Regions from separate parts of the Homo sapiens genome. Here region 1 is linked to region 2. Evidence: promoter capture Hi-C in human tissues and cell types (Jung and others, 2019). All regions are on one chromosome and are shown on one strand. Each heading gives the region's core, a stretch centred on a gene start or on the middle of the fragment in contact. The rest is flanking DNA. Distances are from core to core; before and after follow the strand shown.

The links. Contacts are between HindIII fragments. The study calls those that stand out against the background at their distance.
Region 1: a fragment that was not itself captured here is called in contact with the fragment with the promoter of ADCK2 in region 2 in 1 of the 25 tissues and cell types used here (dorsolateral prefrontal cortex).

What each region holds. Positions count from the first base shown.
Region 1 is chr7:141,693,456-141,697,936 of GRCh38, forward strand. The region is part of intron 1 of DENND11 (DENN domain containing 11); the gene reads right to left. Among named protein-coding and RNA genes, the nearest start is that of DENND11, 6.5 kb to the right of the region's middle. The HindIII fragment of the contact is 6,875 bases long and covers 1-4,481 here.
Region 2 is chr7:140,670,386-140,674,682 of GRCh38, forward strand. ADCK2 (aarF domain containing kinase 2) reads left to right here and starts at 2,560. Exons shown (of 8, transcript NM_052853.4): 1 at 2,560-3,878; 2 at 4,226-4,297. The coding sequence starts at 2,946. RefSeq lists a silencer at 2,495-2,954. The HindIII fragment of the contact is 30,105 bases long and covers 1-4,297 here.

The DNA of each region.
Region 1 (4,481 bases), core at 234-2,733, 1.0 Mb after region 2:
GTTATTATCAAATGACCCAGCAACGATGCACCTTTGTATTTATCCAAATGAGCTGAAAACTTACATCCACACAAAACCTGCACACAGATGTTTGCAGCAGCTTTATTCACAATGGCCCAAAACTGGAAAACAACCATGATGTCCTTCATAGGTGAATGGATAAATAAAACGTGAGATATCCATACAAGGAAATACTCTATAGCAATACAGAAAAATGAGCTATCAAGCCATGAAGAGACATGGAGGAACTTTAAATGCATGTAGCTAAATAAGAGAAGCCAGCCTGAAAAGGCTACATACTATATGATTTCAACTATGTGACATTCTGGGAAAGGCAAAATTATAGAGACAATAAAAAGATCAATAGGAAGGGAGGGATGAATAGGTCAAGCATAGGATCTTTAGGGCAGTGAAACTATTCTGTATGATACTGTTATGGTGGATACATAACATCGTGCATGTTTCAAAACCCATTGAACTGTACAACAGTGAACCTTAATGCAAACTATGGATTTAAATAAACAATAATGTATCAATATTAGTTCATCAATTATAACAAATATACCACACTAATGAAAGATGTTAATAAAGGGAAATTATATGTGTATGAGTGAGGGGGAGGTAGTATATGGGAACTCTGTACTTTCTGCTCAATTTTTCTGTAAAACTAAAATTGCTCTAAAAAATAAAATACATTAATTATTTAAAAAAACCTAATTGATGAATTAACCTAAATTAACTGCCCTAAGAGTGGCAATGATACTATGGTGATGTAGAAAAATAGCCTTATTCTTAGGAGATTTATACTGAAGTATTTTATTTTATTTTATTAAGAGACAGGATTGCCCAGGCTGGAGTGCAGTGGCCCAATCATAGCTCACTATAACCTCTAACTCCAGGGCTCAAATGATCCGCCCATCTCAACCTCCCAAACAGCTGGGACTACAGGTATGCGCCACCATGCCGGGCTAATTTTTTAAATTTTTATAGAGATGAGGTCTCGCCATGTTGCCCAGGCTGGTCTTGAACTCCTGGCCTCAAGAAATCCTTCCACCTCTGTCTTCCAAAGTGTTGGTATTACAGGCGTTAGTATATGTATTCACGCCCAGCCCATACTGAAAAATTTAGAAATGAAATGCCATGACATCCACAACTTACTTTCAAATAGTTCAGCAAAAAAAAGAAAAGTCTATTTATATCTCCACACACAGTCAGTTCTGCTATAATGCTTGTTGAATCTGTTCCAAAGCAATCAATGTATTAGGGAATTTGACATTTGCTTATGTGTGATTTCAATCATGAAAAACACAAAGTCAATGTGGAAAACTACACCCAGCTGAATCAAGCCATGTCGGAATATACAAAACACACCCACCTTAAGCTTCTCCTGCTACCTCAGGTCACCTCGTTCTGGGCCATGCCATGCACCTCTAGCGTCACAGTTTTGCCTCTGATTTCAGACAGCCCCCCTCCCACCACACATAGTAATTCACAGGCTCAATCCTTTCAGCACTCACCTCCAGATACAAACACCAGGTCTTTTAAAGGTACAGTTCCACATTTACTAAGTATGTATTTCTTAACCATTTATCATATGCAAAACTGTCCTATAGTTTTTGGTAGGTTCCTATCTTTTTTTTAAAAAAAATGTGCCACTGACAAAGTTTTTCTCATAAGCCCTGTGATTTTTACTTCATGATTTTTTTTTGCCGCACAGTGATTTTTGGAACATATATTTCATGTTATAGGGGATATGACTATGTAAGAATAAAGCAAATGGGGCAAAATGTCAATAAACGGGGACTCTAAGTGAAAGACATACAGGTTTTCACTGCACTATTCTTTCAACTTTTCAAAACATTTCAACTTACAAATTGGGGAAAATAATTGAAATAATAGCAATGTGAAAAAAAGGAGAGCATAAAGGACTTTGCAAAAGCCAAAAATAATTGAGGCAATGCACCACACTAATAGGGAATGAAGCGCTATCAGGGCTTGAAGTTATCCTACAGAAACATTACAAATGAAAACCAGCTTACATATGGAATTTGAGGAGACTTAATGGAAAGTGATTTTGCATAATTAGTAATCCTTATGGGATGCCATTTAATACCAGAAAGAAACTCATCCTGACTGCTACTTATCCCAGGCTCAGTCTTCACATTCCATGCTTTTAGGTTTTCCAGATATCCTCACTGTATTAAGAACTCAGCCAGGGAGCTGGGGCCTGGAAGATTCAACAAAAGAGGTCATCTCATGGCTAGTCCATCAAAGAGAGGAGGTGCCAGTGACAAGTGCCTTTTTCTCCCCTAACTTGCTCTCTTTCCATCTCTGTGTCCTTTCTCATCTTGGACCATGACTTGGACCTATTACAGGTACTTACAGGCACTTCCTAGCCTCTACTGCAAAGACAACTTCTGAGGAGGGATTCACATGACCACGGGAGGCACAAATGTGGCAATATGCATTGTGTACATTCAGCTGGTCATTGAACAAATATTGGTGGAGCACAACTTGGCAGCACGGTGCCTGCCAGGTGCTGAGCTCATGCAAAGGCAAATATGTCTCTGTTTAAAGGAACTTGGACTAACCGACTACGAGGCTGGCAGCTCAGTTACCCAGGCAAAGCCAGAAGGTCAGTGTCGCGCCTGGCTGAGGATGTACAGATGGTCTGAACCCTGCCACTTCACAGCTCCAAAGGTCAGCCTGACAGCTCTGTGCACCAGGGCCTCCCAGAGCTGGGGTTTTATAAGCCCATGGGCTAGGCCAGAGGTAGGCTGTCCTATCTAGGTTGACCACTGCCTCTGTCTTCCAAAACTAGTTCTGTTTAAATGAGAAATGACCAAACCCCCAGCTGTCTTAAAATTCATCACTATTTCCTAGGGAGATTGGACATTAACTGCAGTAACTGCTGTCTGCTAGAAAGTTCACCTCAAAATATTTAAAATAGAGAAAGCAATGATCTTGAACCAAAACAATCTCTTTTTAATAGGAAATATGTGAATTTCTTCTTCCTCCTCTGTTAGATGGTTCCCAAGCAAGCACTTCCTCCTGAGCTCTTCATTTCCTATCCAGAGACTGCCTCAGCTGGAGATCCTCTTCCAGCTCCTCTGACCTCAGGAGTGGAACTCCCACCCCAGCACGTGCCTGAGGTTTTACTCTTTCCACGGTTCTCTTCCCATCTGTGTATACATATGCCCTGATTGTAATCAGGAAGTCAAAACAAATCCTGTTTCAGGAATAAAGGCATGAATCAAAGAGTATTCTAGGTCCCAACAATACATTCCCTTCACATAACCACCTAAAGGGGCCATCAGATCCCACAGGTGGAAACCTCCAAAGAGTATTTGGTTCAGACCCTAACATCAGAAAAGTAAATAACCCAGGTGAGTTGACTTTGGGTCTTACATGGTTTGAAACAGTCTTAAAACCACCTAGTCTGAGAGCACATCCAAAGCAAAGAGAAAAGCATCAGGATAAAGAATCCTGAGTCAGGAAGAAGCTAATCCTGCTGATTTAAAGTCAGCTATATGCCAATCCATGGCTGAATTCCAATGCATTCACTTTACAAAGAAAGACCTTCCATTTCACAGATCCCATATCATTCTCCACTGGGTGGTAGTGTGGTGTGGATAAGGGGTGCAGGTAGACTTGGGCTCTGGCCCTAACTTTAGACAACTTAATGGCTCTGTGCACCTGTTTTTCTCATGATGATGGTGTAGTCTGTTGGGAGGATCAGAGGCAGGTCACTGAAACATGTGGCACAGTCCTTGGCACACAGCAGGCACTCAGGAGGTGGTGGGTATTACAATTACCATTTTTATTTTCCCCTCCTCAATTTTCAAGAGAAGAAACTGACTTCACAGCAGATGGCTACAAACTGATTTCTCCCTGAAAACCACAAGCAGGTGAATCACCAACAGCCTGGGAAAGATTCTACCCGGGTGGGATTAAGCAAATGAACCACAATTGTATTCCACTGGCATTAGGTGGAAATACAGGGGAAGGATGGCGACATGACAGAGTTTCTCTTCCTGCGAGACGTTCTGGCCGGATATCAGAACAGGCTTTTTCTTTGCCTGCATTTGAGCTGTCCATGCTTACGACTGCTCTTTGCATCTTAAAATTGTCCTCCAAATTTTCCATTCACATTCTACTTTGTCACTTTCCCACCCATTGCTAGAGCCATTTATTATTTGCCACGAGTCAGATGACCTGGGCAGCGCTCCAAGTGGTGCCTCAGACACCAGACCTAGCCCTATTCTCACTGGGCCTCCATCATCTCCATTGTTTAAAAAAAAAATGCTTATGTTTCATAGACTATACAGGGAATCTACAGAGATTAAAATTAGTGTGTGTGATTTTAAATGTACTCATGTGACATAAACATAGAAGCGCTCGGATACATTAAATTAAATAGGTGTTTAGATGTAATCTGGGCACTGGCTAGAGGCTGAGGAACAGGTAGAAATTCATTCCCA
Region 2 (4,297 bases), core at 1,310-3,809:
TACATCTTTTTTTTTTTCCTCCTAGATTGAGTGGGTAAATAAATCAGGAGGAAGTTAGGGAAGGGGGCAATTAATGGCTGGTGCTATTGCAAGCTAGTGGTGGTAGGTTTGACTTCTGGGGAGTGGATTGTTAGTTATCAAGGCAAGAGGAGCCACTGGTCACCCTCCCCCGCATTCCTGTCTGTAGCCTAGGTCCCACAGTTTGGGAACCTCCTTAAGGGATGGCTGTCACACTTCCAGCAGTGGGAACCGGGTGCATAGGCCTGTTCTTGCTTCTCTTTCCTTAGCGCCCCTTCCACTTATGATGCCCACAGACCCACCCTTGGGCAGATTTCTGTGGAAGCCTCTCACTTGGGGATAAAGCCTGTCTATATGTAGAGGTGACTGTGGTCCCTCAAGGCAGGCAGCTGCAAAAATCTCAAAGGACAGAGAAGATGGTTGTAGAAGCAGTACCATGGGACCCTTCAATGGCTCTGTGGGCTGATTTCCAAGCTCCACCCCTCTCCCCTTGGTCACAGGGCCACCTGACTTCCCTTTGGTTCTTCGAGGTTATACAACATCCCCACCTGCCAAACCTCATACCAAACTCCTTCCTATGTTTAGGGCTTTATTTGGCCCCCTCCTCTAAGGCTTTCTCTGGCCTTCCCTTCCTCTCCAGGGTAGTTGCATGCTATGTGTGCCTCTGGTAATCTTTTTTTTTTCATGGCTTTTTTTTTTTTTTTTTTTTGACAGAGTCTCCCTCTGTCGCCCAGGCTGGAGTGCAGTGGTGCCATCCTGGCTCACTGCAACCTCTGCCTCCTGGGTTCAAGCCATTCTCCTGCCTCAGCCTCCTGAATAATCTGGGACTACAGGCATGCACCATCACACCCAGCTAATTTTTGTATTTTTAGTAGAGATGGGATTTTACCACATTGGCCAGGCTGGTCTCGAATGCCTGACCTCAAGTGATCCCCCCGCCTCGGCCTCCCAAAGTGCTGGGATTACAGGTGTGAGCCACCGTGCCCGGTCATTTCTTGCATGGCTTTGCCACACTTTGAAACTGCACATTTTGATTTCTTATCATGGGTGTTTTTTTAAAAAAAATTGAAATTGCACATTTATATGTTCCCATGTTGGGTCCCCCTCATTACGTATTCAGCCAGTAAGGGCAGGATATTTGTGTCCGCTTTCCCAGGGTCCAGCACATGACCTAGCTTGATCAGTACATATTATTGAGCCTCGACAAATATGAGATTGGGCTCAAGAAATATTTATTGGGCTCAGTGAGTATTATTGAATGAATGAATATGGCCTTTCCGGAGCCTTTCCCCAAGGTCCAACACAATTGCCGAATTAATGCAGCCGAGGACACAGCATCCAGTTCCTACTCCTGCAGCCCAGTTACCCCCATCCAACACCACCCCCCTACCCAACCCCCGCTGAAAAGCGGACCTGTGTTCAGAACCTGCCTTCATACTTTTCAGCCATGCTCTTTGGAATAATGAAAGATACGAAGAAGTCAGTGGGAAGATAGACATGGGGAGGGGGACATAGAGGGTGCCTTTGCGTTTTGCTACCCAGGACCCAGGACTCAAGGGCAGGGTGGTCTTGGCCTGGGGTCGCCGTCCTCTTTAAGGGGCGGGTCAAGGGACCCTGGCTGCCCGGGCCTCTGCCACCGACCCTCTGCTCCCTCCGACCCTCACCGCCCAGCACCCAGCCCTCTGCCCCCACCGGCCACCCTGTAACAGCCCAGCGGGTTCACCTTGCCTGCTGCCTAGACAGAGCCGATTTATCAAGACAGGGGCATTGCAATAGAGAAGGAGTAATTCACACAGATCAGGCTGCGCGGGACACTGGGCAGAGTTTTTAAGGACAACTTGGTGGGTGGGGGAAGGCCAGTGAGTCGAGAGTGCTGATTGGTTGGGTCGGAGGTGAAATCTTAGGGAACTGAAGCTGTCCTCTTGTGCTGAGTTAGTTCCGGAGTGGGGGCCTAAGATCAGATGACCTGGTTTATCGATCTGGTAGGTGTCAGTTGATCCATCAAGTGCAGGGTCTGCAAAATATCTTGAGCACTGATCTTATTAGCAGTTTAGGGAGGGTCAGAATACTGTAGCCTTGCTGCCTGACTCCTAAATCATACTTTCTAATCTTTTGGTTAATTTGTTAGTCCTACAAAGACAGTCTATTCCCCAGGCAAGAAGGAGGTTTGTTTTCAGAAAGGGCTGTTATCATCTTTGTTTTAAACTATAAAGTATAAACTAAGTTCCTCCCAAAGTTAGTTCAGCCAACGCCCAGGAATGAACAAGGACAGCTTGGAGGTTAGAAGCAAGATGGAGTTGGTTAGGTCAGATCTCTTTCATTATCTGTTATAATTTTGCAATGGCGGTTTCAACCTAGTGGCCGAACCCGTCCCATCCATCTCCCGCGCCCCTCCGCTCCACCACAGCCCTCGGTGCCTCGGTTCCCTGCACCTGCACTCCCGCCCGCCCCCGACGCTCCGCCCCCGACGCTCCGCCCGCCCTCCACGCTCCGCCCCGCCCTCCCGGCCCCCGCCTGCGCCCGCGCCCTGGGCTGGTGCCCGCCACCCCAGCGATCTCATACTGGCCCCTGGGCGCACGGTGACCCTGCGGCTGCCCGGCCCCTGCCTCCGCCCGCGCGGCCCCCTCGCTCAGGTCGCGGGCGCCCGGGGCCTGGCTTCGCGTGGGTCCTGGCTCCTCCCGTTCCGCAGTTGGTGCCGTCTGACAGCCCCTTCCGCGCGGCGCGGCGCGGCGCGGCGGGTGTCGGGCGGGGCGCGGGCCTCCGGCCTGAGGCCCGGCGAGGTGCTGGAGGGAGCGGGGCGCGGATCCGGCCCAGATGGGCAGCTCCGTCCGCGGGGTCAGGGCCGGGCTTCGGCTTCACCGCAGCCTCGCCTGAGCGGGCGCCTCTGAAGTGGAGGGCGGGCCGCCTGGGCCGCGGGCCTCGGGAGGATGGTGGCGCCCTGGCGCGTCTCCGTCAGGGTTTGCCTGTCGCACCTGAGGTGCTTCGAGCTCAGACAGGGACTCAGCCTCCTGAGGCCCTCCGAGTGCCCTCGCGATGCCAGGCTCTGCTGGCTTCTGCTGGGCACTTTGCCCAAGGTCGTCTCCCTGTGCGGGGACGTGGGTGAGGGGGCCCCTGACGTTCTGAGTCGGCGAAGGGTCCGCTGCAGCGGGGCGGCTGGCGCGGGGCCCGCGGAGAGCCTCCCCCGAGCGGGACCTCTGGGCGGCGTCTTCCTGCATCTCCGCCTCTGGCTTCGCGCCGGCGCTCTGTTGGTGAAATTCTTCCCCCTCCTACTCCTCTACCCCCTCACCTACCTGGCTCCCAGCGTCTCCACCCTCTGGCTCCACCTGCTTCTGAAAGCCACCGAGACCTCAGGCCCAACCTACATCAAACTGGGCCAGTGGGCCAGCACCCGGCGCGATCTGTTTTCGGAGGCTTTCTGTGCCCAATTTTCCAAGCTGCATGTCCGAGTGACGCCCCACCCGTGGACTCACACTGAGCGCTTCCTTCGGCAGGCTTTTGGGGATGACTGGGGGAGCATCCTCTCTTTTGAGAACCGGGAACCTGTGGGCTCAGGCTGCGTGGCCCAGGTGTACAAAGCATACGCCAACACTGCCTTCCTGGAGACTGACAGCGTCCAGAGACTTGGCAGGGCCTCCTGTCTGCCGCCCTTCTCACATACTGGGGCAGTCGGTGGGCTGAGAGAGCTCTTTGGATACCTTGGAAATGGCCGGAAACCTCCAGAAAATCTCGCAGACCAGTCGTTTCTAGAAAGGCTGCTCCTCCCTAAAGCTGACCTGGTTGGATCAAATGCAGGGGTGTCTCGGGCTCAGGTCCCTGGCCACCAACCTGAGGCCACCAACCTCATCTCCGTGGCAGTGAAAGTAAGTGTTGTGAGAGCTCACAGCTCACCTACCCACTGAGCTATCCCAGATCAGAAACAACCGCCATGCAAATCGCCCCCACGTTTATTTCTATTTGCCTGACCAATATCTGAGTGCTTATTTCATGCAAGCTGTTTCATTTATTGGCTTGAAGTGGCGGTGTGAATAGTCTGATAGAGGAAAATGAACTGAGTCTGGAGTGAACTAACTGCTTGGGTGTCGGGACCACATCCTCTTTTCTTTGATAAGAAGCCACCTGGCTCTTGCTTGGATGGTGGGACCCAGCCCTGGCTGGGTAAAATGTGTCCAGCAGGTTTCTCCTGTCTCACGGTTCCTCTTTCTGACAGGTGTTGCACCCTGGCCTGCTCGCTCAGGTGCATATGGACCTGCTGCTGATGAAGATTGGCAGCCGAGTCCTG